Regions from separate parts of the Homo sapiens genome. Here region 1 is linked to region 2. Evidence: promoter capture Hi-C in human tissues and cell types (Jung and others, 2019). All regions are on one chromosome and are shown on one strand. Each heading gives the region's core, a stretch centred on a gene start or on the middle of the fragment in contact. The rest is flanking DNA. Distances are from core to core; before and after follow the strand shown.

The links. The method cuts DNA at HindIII sites, captures the fragments that hold promoters and counts their contacts. A contact is called where the count stands out against the background at its distance.
Region 1: a fragment that was not itself captured here is called in contact with the fragment with the promoter of CLDN23 in region 2 in 3 of the 25 tissues and cell types used here (IMR-90 fibroblasts, dorsolateral prefrontal cortex and hippocampus).

What each region holds. Positions count from the first base shown.
Region 1 is chr8:8,428,305-8,432,792 of GRCh38, reverse strand. No RefSeq gene overlaps it. Among named protein-coding and RNA genes, the nearest start is that of LINC02949, 6.0 kb to the right of the region's middle. The HindIII fragment of the contact is 5,506 bases long and covers 471-4,488 here.
Region 2 is chr8:8,700,558-8,705,090 of GRCh38, reverse strand. CLDN23 (claudin 23) reads right to left here and starts at 3,154. Exons shown (of 1, transcript NM_194284.3): 1 at 995-3,154. The coding sequence starts at 2,692. The coding sequence ends at 1,814. RefSeq lists an enhancer at 2,361-3,328 and a silencer at 2,802-3,421. The HindIII fragment of the contact is 23,279 bases long and covers 1-4,533 here.

The sequences.
Region 1 (4,488 bases), core at 1,974-4,473, 270 kb after region 2:
CCATGCAAGGGCATCCAAAGTTAGGCTGATTCTTTGAGTTAGCAATAAAGTGATGGAGGCCCAACAGTCTCAACCCACTTTACTTGACTTTCCAGTAATTTCCTATGCTCTCAAATCAGAGGACACAACTAGATTTTATCAGGCTGGGATAAAGAATTCTAAGAACCTGTTTATTTTAAAGCAGCATTAGTGATATGTACAGAGACTAAAATTCCATCTGACACTGATTTCCCAAATTATATCAACCGAAGGAAGTGGGGCACCTTCTAGGTCATGTGGCGCTGGTCAGGGCACCAGCTGAAACCCTAAAAATAGCTGAATCATGTCTGAGGCCCAATCAGAGAATTCCTTCCAGACATTTGTCTTCAATGGATTTCCATGAATGCACAGCTGCCCGGGGCCAAGCAAAACCGCCCCACAGTGATGAAACAAAGAGTCTTACATTTCAGAGACGCTGGTCATGGGTGCCCCAACATTTGACTTGCTATTTTCTTGTCCAAGAAATTGAACATTGGCAAAACCTCTAGGTCCCGAATAGGGAAGTTATGCAGGGTAGGAAATGCATTTGTTGGCGTCTTGGGTGTAGGAACGCATCACACTTGAGTGGGCACCCTATCTCTAAGATTAGACGCTGGAGATACCACAGAGCAGGAACCAATGTATCTGGTTTTGTTTGTCCAGATTCTATCACATTTTGTTTTGTTTTTATGGTGGTTGGTAATGCCAGGTAATTCCCTTAGGGCAGGAAAAACCTGGGGTTTTCAGAAGACATCATGAGGATACTTAAATATGTTGACAGAGGTCACAGCATGGTGGTTTTGTGAACATAACATCTAGAACTATGCATTGGCTTAAACAGCAACAACTAAACTATAGTATTGGTATTGGTATTTCTCTAGAATCTGAAATGTCAGAGAACTTGAGAACCCACTAAAAAGACATTATATAATGTATTAGTCAGGGTTCTCTAGAGGGACAGAACTAATGGAACATATGTATATATATACATATACATATATATACACATATACATATATATGTGTGTGTGTGTATATATATATATATATGTGTGTGTGTGTGTGTGTGTGTGTGTGTGTGTGTGTGGGAGCTTATTAAGTATTAACTCATAGAATCACAAGGTCCCACAATAGGCCATCTGCAAGCTGAGGAGCAAGGAGAGCCAGTCCAAGTTCCAAAACTGAAGAACCTGGAGTCCAGTGTTCCAGGGCAGGAAGCATCCAGTATGGGAGAAAGATGTAGGCTGGGAGGCAAGGCCCGTCTCTCTTTTCACATTTTTCTGCCTGCTTATATTCTAGCCAAGTTGGCAACTGATTAGATTGTGCCCACCAAGATTAAGGGTGGGTCTGCCTTTGCCAACCCACTGATTTAAATGTTCGTCTCCTTTGGTGACACCCTCACAGACACACCCAGGATCGATACTTTGTATCCTTCAATCCAATCAAGTTGACAATCAGTATTAACCGTCATATATAACTTGCTCTTTTTTATAAGGATTGTGGAAAATTTCTGTCTAAAATTTGCAAAGCCCTCCAACTTTGTGGGAAATAGCTGGATGGGAAAGATATGATTATCAAGTATTAACCTAATTTTTAAGTGAATAGGGTAGAATATTAAGATTAAAGTGAGCATTAATTTTCAAAATAGTCACCCTAGAAGGTTATGCCTATAGCTCAATGCAACTGCTATTTCTCAAAATATTTCTAGAGAATTATTTTTGAATTGCATTTAAAATTGAGTTAGGAGCCACCCCAGAAAAGCAGTCTTATTACAATATACTTTAACCTTTTTAAAGCTCATATATCTTTTTGAAATATTAAAGGAAAAAACAAGACCCTCAGCTACTCCCTATCCCAAACCTCATATCACTTATATCATATAAGAAGGCTTAGAATTTTTTTTTTTTTTTTTTTTTTTTTTTGAGACGGAATCTCACTCTGTCTCCCAGACTGGAGTGCAATGGTGTAATCTCGGCTCACTGCAACTTCCCCCTCCCTGATTCAAGCGATTCTCCTGCCTCAGCCTCCGGAGTAGCTGGGACTACAGGTGCCCGCCACCACGCCCGGCTAATTTTTTTTGTGTGTAATTTTAGTAGAGACGTGGCTTCACCGTGTTAGCCAGGATGGTCTGGTGCCCAGCCTTCAGACAGATTCTTAAGGACTTTTTATATTGCTATTCTGAAATGGACAATAGCTTTTGTATACTTAAAATCCAATAGATTAATTTTAAAAAATTAAATTAAATTTTAAAAATTAATTAAAAATTAACTTAAAAAATTAATCTTAATACTCATATCTATGAGTTACAGTTTTTAAACATAAAGCTTGTTCGGGCCCGGCGCAGTGGCTCACGCCTGTAATCCCAGCACTTTGGGAGGCTGAGGCGGGTGGATCAGCAGGTCAGGAGATTGAGACCATCCTAGCTAACACGGTGAAATCCCATCTCTACTAAAAATACAAAAAATTAGCCAGGCGTGGTGACAGGTGCCTGTAGTGTGAGCTACTCAGGAGGCTGAGGCAGGAGAATGGCATGAACCCGGGAGGTGGAGCTTGCAGTGAACTGAGATTGCGCCACTGCACTCCAGCCTGGGCGACAGAGCAAGACTCTGTCTCAAATAAATAAATAAATAAATATTGTTCTTGTGTTACATGTCATTGTAGATTAGAATCACATGTACTTGGCCAGGCATGGTGGCTTGTGTCTGTAATCCCAGCCCTTTGGGAGGCTGAAGTGGGCAGATCACCTGAGGTCAGGAGTTCGAGACCAACCTGGCCAACATGGTGAAACCCCGTCTCTAATAACAATACAAAAATTAGATGGGCGTGGTGACAGGTGCCTGTAGTCCCAGCTACTCTGGAGGCTGAGGCAGGAGAATCGCTTGAACCCGGGAGGCGGAGGTTGAAGTGAGCCCAGATCTTGCCGCTGCACTCCAGCCTGGGTGACAAGAGTGAGACTCTGTCTCAAAAAAATAAAAAAGAATCACCTGTACTTAGAGAGCAACATCTGATCCCAAGTTTAGTAGTGACACAGTGTATAAATCTGGGGACTTGAGAGACAGGCCATGGGAGGACATTTGTACTTAGAGAACATCAGTATATAAGCAAGTTGTTATACAAGTAAGTGTGTGTGTATGCAATCGCGCGCGCGTGTGTGTGTGTGTGTGTGTGTGTGTGTGTTTTGGGTTGGTGAGTGAGTCAGGCAAAGCATATATTGAAACTTACTTCAAAGACACTTTTGAAGGCTGACCACTATTATGTAAACAATGAAAAGAATTTGACTGATCAAAGAGAGAAGTTTGTAAATGACCTCTGCCATGCATGCATCTTGAATATTTGTTTTCACTTACACAAAGTCTGTATCCTGTCAAAGTCATGGTTAAAATATTTGAAGTTTGAACAGGCATGGGTAATTGTGGGAGATAACTTGTGGGGGATAATTTATGATAGGAAAATCATAAATTCACATGAGGAAGAGGAAACTACCTCATCTGTCCTATCCTAGGAAAGTCTGATGATGATGATGGTAATGATGACAGTGACGATAAAAATGATGTTGTTGGTGATATTGATGATAGTGGTAATGGTGATGATGGCTGTGGTAGTATTGATGATGATGGTGTTAATCATGTTTCTGCTGGCTATGGTTGTGGTTGTCAAATTGTTCCTTACAGGGGCTGATTCTTCAGATTTTTATAGCAACTTTGTCCCAGTTGGCTCCACTGAACCAAACAGGACTTCCTGAAGTTTCATATTATCTCAGAAGCAAAAACACAGAAAAAGAGTCATCTTTGTTTTAAAAGAGTGGAAGAAAATGTACCAAAGTGAGAGACCATCTATCTTATCAGAAATAGTATTTTTATTCCATAGCGAACCTGGGATCTGAGCCTTAATTCCCAGGCAGCTCTCCAGCCATACGAATTCACTGTGACATTCAGTGGTGTTCTGAAGCTTTGTTGTATTCTGGTAAAGGTTACAAAAATATCCATTTTGAAGTGCCAATGTGAGTTTCTCTAGAAATACAATTTTTAGCAGCATCAGGATTAATATGAACATTTCAGAAGTTAAACTGATTGTTTAAAAAAAAAAAAAAGAGTAAGCCAAGCATGATGGCTCATGCCTGTAATTGCAGCACTTTGGAAGGCACAGGTGGGTGAATTGCTTGAGTCCAGAAGTTTGAGAACAGCCTGGCCAACATGGGGAAACTCCATCTCTACAAAAAATACAAATATTAGCCAGGCATGATGGTGTGTGCCTGTAGTCCCAGCTACTCAGGATGTGAGGTGGGAGGATCTCTTGAGCCCGGGAGGTGCAGGTTGCAGTGAGCCACGATCGTGCTGCTGCATTCCAGCTTGAGTGATGGAGCGAGACCCTGCCTCAACAACAACAACAACAAAAAAAAAAAAAAAAAAGAGAGAGAGAGAGAAAAGAAAGAGTAAACAGCAAGATATTATACAATTCTGAGGAACTCGGG
Region 2 (4,533 bases), core at 1,905-4,404:
GATGCAGCCCAGACTCACCATTTGCCAGGAGCCCAGTACCTGTACGGTGTCTGCTAGGTGCTGACTTCTCAGGTCCCTAATTGCTGCCTTCGGAGGTGTTAGTGGAAAAGAGCCCTGTTGCACTTTCTCCCTTTTGGCTCTGTACCCTCGAGCAAGTCCCCAAGCGCATCTCGGTAGCAGGCACTCAAAGGTCTGAATATGAGCCACCAGTTGGGATTGAAATTTGAGTGAGACAGTCCCAGCGAAAGCCTTGCAACTCCAAGTGTGGTCCATGAGCCGGCAGCATTGGCATCTCCTGGAAGCCAGTTAGGAAATCTTTTCAGGGCCTCACTCCAGATCTACTGAATCAGAATCTGCATTTGAAAGAGATTCCAAAGTGATACCGCCTACACGTTAAAGCCTGGCTTCAGAAAGAGAGAAAGAAGTGATTCCAGTACCAAATGGCAAGGGAAGTGAATCTCTGTCATCCCTTCCACTCTAACAGGCAGCATGTGCTATTAAGTTAGCCTCACTATAGCTATTATCAGTGCTTGCTGAACTGAATGAATGTTCCTACCTCTGAACGGCAGGTTTTAAAGAAGAGATTCAGTTCGGTTAAAGGTACCCTTAAATCAACCACTTGGAATTGAAGCCAGCCCTGCTGGAGACCCAGTCCCCTTCATGGAACACATAGCTGCCTTCCTGTGATTCTAAACACCACTGCTACAAAGGAAAAGATTTCCAGTCTCACCTCAAGTGGAAACTGGTGCTTCTCGTTTTCTCAGCAATAGACTTGGCTTTGCACAGAAATGGCATGAACCTAAAACCAAAGCAATCAGGGACTTAAGTGGGGCCCGTTGGCTTTTTTTAGTAACCTTATGCTAAGAGGTGCAAAGATTTGAGTGCTAGATTTCAGACACAAGTGCCGAGGCAGCCAGGAAATTGTTAGTAATGAATGTTTAAACTCCCAAACGTTGTACTGAAGACAAAAGAGCTTTTGTGGCTATACTGAAACTATTGTTTTAAAATTTTATTTATAAATAAAAGATATATACATATGTGCTTTAATATGATTAACAGGTTCCATTTTGTACAAAATGTTAAACCTAGAGTCCTCTGCGTCCTGGATGAGGCGTCCAAAGGGTGGAATAGTACAGCATTAGGACCTTTGTTCTCCTCTTGGCTTCTGGAAGAGAAACTCTTGCATGCCCTCGACTTTCACCGCAAAAATAAGTGAGAAAAAAGATAAATCCCATTTATGCAATGATATGTAGCTATGAGTTAATCACGGTATTTCATTCCATGAAATCCATTAAGCTGCTGGCATTTGCATGGCTCTAAGTTTATTTTAAGAGGCTCATTCAAACATGGCCAGGAATATATTGGCCTCTTGAGAGTTTGCATGGCAAGGAGTTATACAGCAGGAAAAAGAAAAAAAACCCAATAATTATATTGATGCAAGATTCATCAGTATTTTAGAATATTGTCGTTTCAACATGTTAAATTGTTTCTGAGCACTGCTGATTTCAGCACTGTCCCTGGTCCACGTGACGCAAATGCCACCCTTTCCATATATTCTTCAGCAAAAATATATGAAAAGCCCGTCACTCCCTAAGAGGACCCTGATCCCTCTGGAGAGGAAAACTAAACTCTTTAAGAAGAAAACCAAACCCAACCTGAACTAATCGTCCAAGGAGTCCTGTTTGGTCCCACGAAAGGCAGATTTCCATCCACACCAGTGAGGGGCAAGTGTCCGGGTTCCAACTCGAAGCCAGGCGGGCCTGTGCGGGGGTGAGTCCTTTGCCACCCGGCGCCCCCCAGGCTCTACAAGCGTCTAGAGGTCGGAGTCGCAGGGCAGCGAGCTGTCGCAGGGGTGGGTGCTGCACGAGGGAGCGTCCTGGGACTCCCACCCCTCCCCGTCGAGGACGTCCACCGAGTTGGTGTAGGCCTTGGGCCGCGGCCGCGGCATGGGGAAGCCGACCTTGGGCTTGGGCTTGGGCTTGCGGTGCTGGGCAGGCGGCGGTCGGTGCTGGCCGTCGCTGTAGTACTTGATGGCGGGCGCCAGGTCGGGCTCGGGCCACTCCACTTGGATGGTGCTGACGCTGCTGCGGCGAGGCCCGGCGGAGGGTCCCTTGCGGCGGCGGCGACAACGCTCGTCGCACCAGGGCGCGAAGCTGAGCGCCAGCGAGAAGCCGCCCAGCAGCAGGAGGCAGCTGCCCAGGTAGCCCAGGACCAGGCTGTAGCTGACCTGCACCGTGACCGGGCTGGCCGGGGCGGGCAGCACGTCGCGGTCCCCCAAGAAGTGGTTGTACCAGGACACCGGGATGAGGCCGAGGAGGCCAGCGACGAAGAGCACGACGCCCGAGAGCCCTGCCAGCACGAAGTTGGGCTCGTCCTGCCAGCAGCGCACGCCCAGCGACGCCAGCAGAAGCCCCAGGACCGTGGCGGCCAGCGAGGTGACCATGAGTGCCCGCGCCACCAGCACGGGCTGGGCCTCGAAGTAGCCCCACTGGTCCGTCTGGCCGCACTCGCGCTCGCGGCTGCTCTGCTCGCGACACATGTCCCACAGGCCCTGGTACAACTCCACGTCCACTGGCTGGTTCAGGAAGCCCTTCACCAGCCGCCAGCCGGGCGCCAGGGTGCCGGTCAGGTTGAGCAGGAGCCCGCAGGGCGCCAACACCATGCCCAGCGTCATCACCACCGGCGTCCGCATCCCGGCCCGCCGCGCCGACGGCGCCCCTGCAGCCTGCCTTCCTTCTCCGCTGTCGCCTTCTCCGCCGTCGTCTTCTCCCTGCCGTGCCCCAGGCTCCGGGGACCCGAAGTCAGCGCGGACGCCCCGGGCTCCGGGTCGGGCTCCTGAGCCCTGATCGCTCCAGGGACGCTCTTTGTCTCCTGCACGGGGACCGTCCCCACTTAGGCTAGTTCCCTCCTGGCGTCCCGGCCGCTCCGCCCTCCTACTGGCCCTAATCGAAACCAGCCCGCGGGCGGGTCTGACCGAAACCGCGGGTCCGGGCGCGGGCGCCCAGGGGCGGCTGCCGCGGCCAAACCTGGCCCGGGAGGGAGGGACCCGAGGTGAGCGCAGGAAGCGGCGGGGCCACCTCGCCCGCGGCAGGTGAGATGGGGATCCGAGCGGCGGGGACACCCCACCTTGCAGCCGGGCGGCTGGGCCACGCCTGGCCTGGACTGCTCACGGCCGGAGCAAAGGTCGCCCCGCCCCTGGGTCCTCGCGCCGCCCCGCCGGGCCAGGCGGGCGGTGGGCGGGGAGGGAAAGAGGCGGCGCTGGCGGGACGCGGTGGCTGCGCAGCTTCCCTGCTGCTCAGCGGATCTCGGTTCCTAGAATTTGTTTCCGGTCCCTGCCCGTCGACCCTGCGCTTATAGCTTAGCCCTTTACTCCCAGAGGGTTCCAGATCGCCCCCTGGTTTGCTCTGCAACTTGCAGCCACTCGCAGAGAAGTGGGCGGTGCCGAGCGCTCCCGGGGATTGGAGGTGCGCTGGGTGAGTGTGCAGAAGCCCACCCAGTCCAGGAGCGTGTCCCAGAACGTTGCACCGGATTATTTCCTTAATAAAGGCTCCACACTCTGGATTAAATTCGTCTCTAAAGAATCTGTGCCAGTGTACTTCTGGGCAGAAGGGTTACACAAGGATTTTACTTTCCTTTTTCAGCCTTGTGAGACTTTCAAGGGGACTAGAAAGAGGGACCAGTGTTCCCGGATGTCCTGCTTAGCGTTTTTTGCAGGTTTATTTAATTTTACAGTGTACTGTGGCCTTTCTCGTCTGTAGGTTATTTTACAACTCTATAAATTATAGAAAGCCTGTAGTATTGCAAATGACTTTTGCCAACATCAAGGCTAATGAGTTCGTCCCAGTGGAATGATTATTGTCCAATGGATACTGACCAGTATGGCATTGATTTGTAAATTCATTTTAGCATTCCTGTTTGTCTGTATATGTGTGTCCTTTTGTTCTTTGCTTTTTTTTTTTCCTTTTTCTTTTATTTATTTATTTATTTATTTATTTATTTATTTATTTTAAACAGGGTTGGGGAGTTTCGCTGTGTTGCCCAGGCTGGTTGCAAACTCCTGGGCTCAGGTGAGTCTCCCGCCTCAGCCTCTGGAGTAGCTAGGACTGCAGGCAAGTGGCCAGCTTCTTTGGTTTTAACATCATACTGGTTTCCTTATTCAATAATGAGTTAAATAACCTCTTTCACACATATTCATTTTATATTTGTGTGAAAGTCACGATGTTTACATTTTTTCTAAAAATTATCCTTTAATAACACTTTTTTGTATTTTCTAGATTTTTACAATGAAAACGTATTGCCTTTATAATTGTTTAAAATTAAAACTATTTTTAAAATTCAAGTTAATTTAGCATTGGTTTGAAATAATTTTGAATATTCCAGAGTGGACAACACTAGGAATGACAGTGACTGCTTTTTTTAAAAGAATATTTTTAAATTAAAAAAAAAACCTGTGGTAACATATATGTAACATACAGTTGACCGTTGTAACCATCTTTAAGTGTACAGCTCATTGGTATGACATACATTCACATT